Linked DNA regions of Homo sapiens: region 2 is linked to region 1. Evidence: promoter capture Hi-C in 16 types of primary human blood cells and fetal thymus (Javierre and others, 2016). All regions are on one chromosome and are shown on one strand. Each heading gives the region's core, a stretch centred on a gene start or on the middle of the fragment in contact. The rest is flanking DNA. Distances are from core to core; before and after follow the strand shown. Region 1 holds the start of ASB2 (ankyrin repeat and SOCS box containing 2). Region 2 overlaps UNC79 (unc-79 subunit of NALCN channel complex).

Evidence for each region. Contacts are between HindIII fragments. The CHiCAGO score rates a contact against its expected background, and 5 or more counts as called.
Region 2: a contact is called between a fragment that was not itself captured here and the fragment with the promoter of ASB2 in region 1, in 2 of 17 cell types (endothelial precursors and M2 macrophages). The highest score is 5.9, in endothelial precursors.

The regions. Positions count from the first base shown.
Region 1 is chr14:93,974,091-93,978,289 of GRCh38, forward strand. ASB2 (ankyrin repeat and SOCS box containing 2) reads right to left here and starts at 2,480. Exons shown (of 10, transcript NM_001202429.2): 1 at 2,344-2,480. LOC107984663 (a long non-coding RNA gene) reads right to left here. Exons shown (of 4, transcript XR_001750861.2): 4 at 3,335-4,199. RefSeq lists an enhancer at 961-1,532. The HindIII fragment of the contact is 23,075 bases long and covers 2,453-4,199 here.
Region 2 is chr14:93,649,684-93,653,475 of GRCh38, forward strand. All of the region lies in intron 38 of UNC79 (unc-79 subunit of NALCN channel complex), which reads left to right. Among named protein-coding and RNA genes, the nearest start is that of PRIMA1, 140 kb to the right of the region's middle. The HindIII fragment of the contact is 226 bases long and covers 1,392-1,617 here.

The DNA.
Region 1 (4,199 bases), core at 1,230-3,729:
ATCTCACCCAAATCGGCGAGGTTCTTTTTCCTTTTTTATCCTCTCTCCTCTGAGTTCCCCTGACCCCGCCTCCATTTAAATCTTTCTCTTCTCTTTTCTCTGCTTTCCTCTCTCCTTTTTTACTCCTCTATGTCCCATTCTTTTTAAAAAACAGATAGTTTAGGAATTTCAATTTACCTTTATTTCAGCACCACCTCCCCAAAAACATTCCTCCCAACCACAAAGCTCTTAATAACTTCATTTATATTCCTGGGCGTTAATTATTCCAAACAATGGTGCTAAGGAAAGAGAACCACAGACACAAGCCACTCCTGTGACAGCTGGCTCCTGTGGGCAGCCTGATCCTCTGCAGCGCAGAAATGGAAGGACACTGGGCAGGCCCAGAGATATTTTTGTGCCTCCTTTGGGAAGGCTCTTTGGATCTAGCCTGTCCACAATATACGGGCACCTTATGATGCCTTGAGTGTGCCAGAGACATTTCCCCTGGGTGCACGATGGTCCTGTTTACCACTGCCACAGTACCTTGAGAGGCCACAGGACGCTGTGGCTTTGAATGTGGACCTTGCAGACCAAAAGGTCAGATTCCTGACTCCAACACTTGCAGCCGTCCAGCCTTAAGCAAGACTTTTAAGCTCTCATAACCTGTTTCCAGACCTGAAAATGGGAGTAACGATCACCTGTAACTCATGGTAGCCTTGACCGAAGTCAGTGAGAGAAATCTGCACACAAGCTTGGGCCAGTGCTCAACAAAGGCTTGCTGGTATGGCCTGTGTTGTTGTTCACTGTGAGGTCACCGTGCGTGGGTTAGACAGTGTCCCCCACCCCCGCCACCACAAGGCACTCATGACCCGGCCTGTTTGTGCAAGAACAGATGATGCAAACCAGCATGGCACCCAGCGGAGCTGCTGCCAGCTTCTTGGGGACGCTGTGCAGCACATGGGCCTGCCACCAGCTGTCAGGACCCGTCCAACTGTTTTGGAAGTGCCTCGAGCATCTGCCACTGTCTGCCTCATGGTGCTTCTGCCCAGGCAGAGGTCAGGGCTGTGGCGGGGGTGCTGGCCCCAGCTGGCTCTGCCTGCGTCCCTCTGAGCCCCCTCAAGCCCTCGCCTCACGAAACAAGCTTATCTTCAGAAGAGCATTCCTGTCCTGTGCAGGGGCTCAGCTTCTGCCCTGCTTCAGGCCTTCCTCATTTACCTGCCCTCCCTAGGAGTCACCAGCCTCCTTGCCTCCTCATTCCAGTGCATACCCCTGGCTTCCCGAAGAGCCACCGAAGCCAAATCTCACATCCTCCAAGGGGAATGGGCCACTGAAATGAAAATGATTCTCCACCTAGAGGCACCAGAAACCAAGTCATGTTTCTGGGCCTCCACCTCTGGGGCCTGAGATGTGAACACACGGGTGGGAGTGTAGGTGCCTGGCTGTGTCCCTTCATATCCCAGATGCTCAATGCATGTGGCTATGTGCATGCCGTCCTCTGCTCAAAAACTCTCAGAAAGTGTTCCAACTTCTTGCTTGGCCTGGAAGGATGTGCCTCTCCCTCTGGCCTCCCCTTCTAGCCTCACCCCCATTTTTCACATGCAGAACCCTTTGCCAGAGCCACATTTCACTTTCCATCATCACCCCAGGTCCCTTGACTTCCCTGCCTTTGCCCAAGCTGCTCCTCCACCTGGAGGTCTCTGTTTCCACCCTGAGGCATCCCACCCATCCTTTCAAAGGCCATGGCCTCCTTAAATGTGTCATGCATATGCGTGTGCACACACATGCATGGTATTCTTGCATCCCTGCATTCCACAGCTTTGTTGGATCTCACATAAATAACATTCCTCCATTTCCTCTCCTAATCCCCAAACAGTTGAAAGCAGAGCACATGGCACCTTGGCTGCTATGGTCTCCCACAATACCGTGCATGCCTAGGCACTCTGCAACAGCTACATTAAATTAACTCCCACTCATGAAAACCTCTATCTGTGCGCCTGGCCTGAAAGCATTTCTGAAAGTCACTTGTCTGACACAGATACCGCCCAAGACCTACAGACCCAACAATAGCATCATTGATAAGTCCTTTTGCATTTCCATTTTTAGAAGTGCACAGCAGAGTGATATTCTGAGCCAGAGTCCTCCAGAAGAATGGGTAAGTACATGCAAATTGCTGAGTCTCTGTTCATTGCATCCAAAACGAAAGTCACCAGCGTGCTGTATAACTCAAGAAAATACGAGAGAGAGGGAAAAGCAACATCACAGTTTGACTACAAGCGGTTTCCAGTAAGTACTGCAGCCGAAAATCCCCACCAGCCAAAGAATCTTTTGCAAGATCTGTATAAGAAAGTTGAAAGCATGCATTACCTGTTAGGCTCTGAAACAAGGGTACAATTCAGGGGTAATACAAAGGATTTTCTTGAAAGTGTCTTAATTCAGAACATGCTCCCCGAGTTTTCCTTCTGCCCTGGCCCCAAGCTTCTGGCTGCTCTGCCAGGCAGTTCTGAAACGCTGTCCTTTGAAGCAGGGAGTTTATTTTGGGGCCACCGCATGACCAACGTTGACAAGCCAAACTATAAGATGTTATACATCTCAGATTTCCTGTTTGGAGGTTGCACTGAGGAAGCTGCAATCCTGCCTTCCGTTCCTCCGGGTGCATCGAATACAGACTCTCACTTCAGAGAGGATCCCGGAGCTTTGGCCCTCACGTGATGTCATCATTTGTGATCCTTGACATGGAGGCCATATATGGGTATGTTTCTGGAACTACCCAGGGGAGAGCCAGACAGGAGAGAGATGCAGTGGGTCAGAGACAGAGGCAGGGAACGAGGACGAGGAGACGCATAGTTGGGAGACAAAGAGTGAGGAGCAAGGGAGGAGGAAGAAAGGGGAAGAGGAGAAGTAAAGGCAACAAAGGAGGGAAGGCAAGACAGCAGGAAGGAAGAGGATGGAGTGAAAGAGAAGGGAAGAAGGGGAGAGAGGAGATGAAGGAGTTGACGTAAAAGGGCTTTGGAGAAATCAAGGTTTGGTGCTGAGCTTGTGGCAGCATTTGGGGATAGCAGGTGTCTGGCTGCTGGATACTGTGGGGTGGGGCTGGGGATACAAAGGGCCAGGGTACAAATGAGCCAACAAACAAACACAGAGGCATGCGGGCAAGCCCTGGGCAGAGATATACAACAGAAGAGAGCCCTTCCTCCTGGTCTAGGGAAGAACGTCCCATTTCTGGAATAGGTCAAATGTCAAAGACAACACATACACAGCCACATGCACTGAGCATCCGGGATGTGACAGGACATGGCCAGGCACCTACTCTCCCACCCGTGTGTTCACATCTCATGCCTCAGAGTTAGGGGTCCAGAAACATGACTTGGTCTGTTCCTCTAAGGGGAGAATCATTTTTGTTTCAGTGGCCCATTCCCCTTGGAGGATGTGGATTTATGATGGCCACAGCATGATTTCTCACTGATTCAAACTCAGGAAACCTCAGGATGCCTTTACACGCACTTCGAATATTCCACAAGGAAATACATCTCAGTATACAAGGTGCCACGGGGTTGAGTCAAGGTTCTGGAGGTCTGACTGGTGCTAAAGATGGGAAGGACACCAGTGGTCCCCAGGCAGTCCCCCAGCTTCCCTGGTACCTGCCAAATTGCTCATCACCCCAGCTGGGTCAGTCTTCCCAGGCCACTGTGGCTGGGTGGCCCTCAAAGTTAGCTCAAGTTCAGCCCCTTCCAGACCCATGTGCTATGGAGGGAGTGTAGGAGAAGGGCAGAGAAGGGGCTGTCAGATTCTTTTTACTTTTTGGAGACTCTGCTACCCAGTAGGATGTTCCCCGAGAGACGTCTCTGTGGGACGGCTCCCCGAGGCCGGGCTGCTTTCCTGGGCTCCTTGCTGGAGGCAAAACACAGGTTCCTCTACTTCCTGCCCACCACCTGCCCCTTCCCAATCTGACCTGGAAGGTGGGCTGTGGCCAGGCCAGGCCCCTCCTAGGTTGCCCTCTGCCTCATGGGCATGCACACATGCACACACACACACACACATACACACCCCAAACTCCATCCAAGATGTGTCTATTCCTTCCCTCCCCTTGAATATGGGGTGGCCTAGTGATGGACTTAACAATAGAATGCAGTGGAAATGATGTCCTGAGACTTCCAAGGCTAGGTCATGAGATGCTTTGTAGCTGCCATGTTGTGAGGAAGTCCAAGCAAGCAACACCCAGG
Region 2 (3,792 bases), core at 255-2,754, 330 kb before region 1:
AATTAACATATCACCTCACATAGTTATCTTTTTATTTTTTGGTGAAAACATTTGAAATCTACTCTCTCAGCAAATTTCAAGTATACGATACATTGTTGTTAACTATACTCACCATATTGTACATTGACGATGGTTGTTTCTTTTGTAAAATTTACATACAAGGAAGTGCACAAATCTTAAGTGTTTATTCCTTGAGTTTTGTCAAATGCATATGACTGTGTAACCCAAACCCCTGTAAAGATAGAGAACATTACCATTATTCCCAGAAAGTTCTCTCGTGCACGTTTCCAGCTAATCTCTACCCCCATAGAGGCAAACACTGTTGTGATATTTTTCCACATGGGTTGATTTTGCCCATTCTAGACTTCATGTCAATGGAATCCTACTGTATGCACTCTTTTGTGTCCAACTTCTGTTACTCAGCATGATGTTTTTGAGATTTATCCATGTTGCTGCTTTTTTATCAGGAGTTTGTTTCTTTTTCAAGGCTGAATTGTATCCCATAATTTGCTTTTTTATTTTCTTATTGAAGGACTTCTAGGTTTTTTCAGTTGGGGGGTATAAAAAAATAGATCTATTGTGAACATTCTTATAAAAGCCCTTTTTAAAACAAGTGTTTTTATTTCTCTTGGGTAAAATACCTAGGGATGATATTGTTGGGTTACAGGATAGGTATATGTTTAATTTTATCAGAAACTACTGGAACTTCTCTTAAAGTGGTTATGCCACTTTATATTACCAATCATCAATGTATTCTGGTTGTTTCATATTCTTGCCCAACTTTGGCATTGTTGGTCTTTTTAATTTTGGTCATTCTGGTGGATGTGTAATGGGTATTTCATTATAGTTTTAACTTGCATTTCTCTATGACATTTTTTCAAGTGCTCATTGACCCATTGCGTATATTCTTTTGAGAAGTGTCTGGTCAAATCTTTTGAATATTTTAATTGGGTTGTTGTCTTTTTATTGCTGAGTTGTAAGACTTTATATATACTGAATACTAGTCCTTTGTTAAGTATGTTTTGAGAATATTTTCACCCAGTCTGGGGCATGCCTATTTCTTTTCTTAGTGGTATCTTTTGCTGAGAAATGTTTAATTTAGGTGAATTCTAATGCATTAAAACAAAACATTACAATTATTGCTTCTTTTTATTTGTCTAAGAAACCTTTGTTTACTTCCAAGTCATGCAGATATTCTCTAATGTTTTCTTATAAAGGCTTTATGGTTTTCATATGTATATTTGGCATTTATAAAACCCATCTCAAATTAATTTTTATGTATGGTGTGAGGCAGCAGTAGGAGTTCATTTTTATCTATGTGGATATTCAGTTTTTCAGCACAGTTAAAAAAGATATTTTCTTTTCTTATTGGATCACTGTGGTGCCTGTTAAGCTTAGAAACCATGGAAGGGTGGATCTATTTCTGGGCTCTCTATTCTGTTCCATTGATCTATATATTAATTCTTAAGTTTGCACCACACTGTCTTGATTATAGTACCTTCATAGTAAGTAGTAAGTGTTAAAGTCAGGTAGCATTAGTCCTCCAAATTTAGTTATCTTTTTCAAGATTGGTTTGGATCTCTACATTCTTTACATTTTCATATAAATTTTGGAATAAGCTTGTCATTCTTATCAAAAAAGTCTGCTGGGCTTGTATTGAAAGAACAAATCAATTTGGGGGTAACTGACAGCATGAAAATATTGAATCTTCCAATTCATGAACATGGTATATATCTCATTTTCATGAGATCTTTAATTTCTCTCAGCAATGTTTTTTAGTTTTCAGTGTAGAGGTCTTGCCATTTTTGTTAAATTTATTCTCAAGAATTTTATGTTTTTTATACTAATGTAAATGGAATTTTTAAAAATTTCAACTTTTTGTTGCTGATATCTAAATAACAATTGATTTTTGCATATTAGCATGTATTCTAGCTAAATTCACTTATTAGTTCTAGTAGTTGCTTTGTAGATCTCTTTAGGATTTGATTTTGTATGGAAAAATCATCTGTAAATAGCAAGAGTTTTACTACTTCCTTTCTGATCTTTATGCCTTTTGTTTCTTTTGTTTTTTTTGAAACAGAGTTTCGCTCTTGTTGCCCAGGCTGGAATGCAGTGGTGCAATCTCGGCTCACAGCAACCTCTGCCTCCTGGGTTTAAAGGATTCTCCTGCCTCAGGCTCCCAAGTAGCTGGGATTATAGCATGCACCACCATACCTGGCTAATTTTGTATTTTTTTTTTTTTTTTTTTTTTTTTTTTACTAGAGGCCATGGTTTCTCTATGTTGGTCAGGCTGGTCTGGAACTCCTGACCTCAGGTGATCCACCCACCTCGGCCTCCCAAAGTGCTGGGATTACAGGCGTGAGCCACCGCACCCCGCCTTTTGTTTCTTTTTATTGCCTTATTGCAATGGCTCAGACTGCCAGTGTAATCATAGAGATGGGAGAGTCGGCACCCTTTTCTTGTTTCCTCTCTTACAGGGAAAGTATTCAATATTTACTATTAATCGCAGTAGCTATAGGTTTTTTTATAGATGCCCTTTAGCAAATTGAGGTATTTCCAGTTTGAGGGTTTTTGTTGTTGTTGCTGTTGCTGTTGTTGAGGCAGGGTCTTGCTCTATCACCCAGGCTGGAGTGCAGTGGCACCATCTTGTCAGTCTCAACCTCCCTGGCTCAAGTGATCCTCCCACCTCAGCCTCCTGAGTAGCTGGGACTACAGGTGTGTGCCACCATGCCCAGCTAGTTTTTTGTATTTTTTGTAGAAATGAGGGGGGTTTGCCCTGTTTCCCAGGCTGGTCTCCAACTCTTAGGCTCATGCAGTCTTCCTGCCTTGGCCTCCCAAAATGCTGGGATTACAGGCGATAGTCACTGTGCCTGGCCCAGTCTGAGTTTTTGTCATGATGTGTGTTGACTTTTGTGAGATGTATTTTCTGCATCTATTGAGATATAAGCTTTTTGTCCGTTATTTCTTAATATATTGAATTATACTGGCTGATTTTTGAGTATTAAACTATTGTTATTCTCTTGGAATAAACTCTACTTGGTCATGACCCTACTTGGTCTTTTAATCTATAGCTGGATTCAGTGGCCATGACGACTATGGGTCTGTCTGTCCTCTTCCCATTTCTTTTCTGTTTCCTTCTTTTTTAAAATTTATTTTGATAATGGCTTTATTAATTTTAGTTTTAGGGCTATGCTGCCTGCATCAAACAAATTGGGAAGGGTTCTCTCCTTCTCTATTTTCTGAAGTTATTGTAAGTTCGGCGTTATTTTTTCCTGAAGAATATTTTTGACCTAAAACTTTGAACCAGCATTTCAGGGTAGATGTGGCACAATGAGGTAATAATTGGCATAATTAGGTAAGCAGTACTTCTTACTCTTTATCTATTTACGTTCTTTGATTTTCTCTTTTTTCCTTCTGGTAACTTACCCCCTAACTACATCAAGAAGCATCCTTTCTGGTACCTTAGTCTAAGGGGCAGGGCCTCATAAATTTGGCCCTACTTTTGATGTGCAGAGGTGCACATGAAGGGTGAAGGTCAAATTGCACCTGTCAAAGTCCAGCCTTTTTACAAGTGTCAGCTCAGATGCCCAAAGAAAACTTCCCACATCTCCTAATGAGAATGAACATCTCTCTCACTGCATATATATATATATATATGAATTTTTTTTTCCTCAGAGCAACTCTGTCTTAGCCAGTGACACTTTCCTGGGAGGATTTTCCTGGTAATCCTCATCCAGGGCTCCAGTCTTGACTGTCATTCTGTGAGCATGTGACCTTTGTATGTGACCTCTT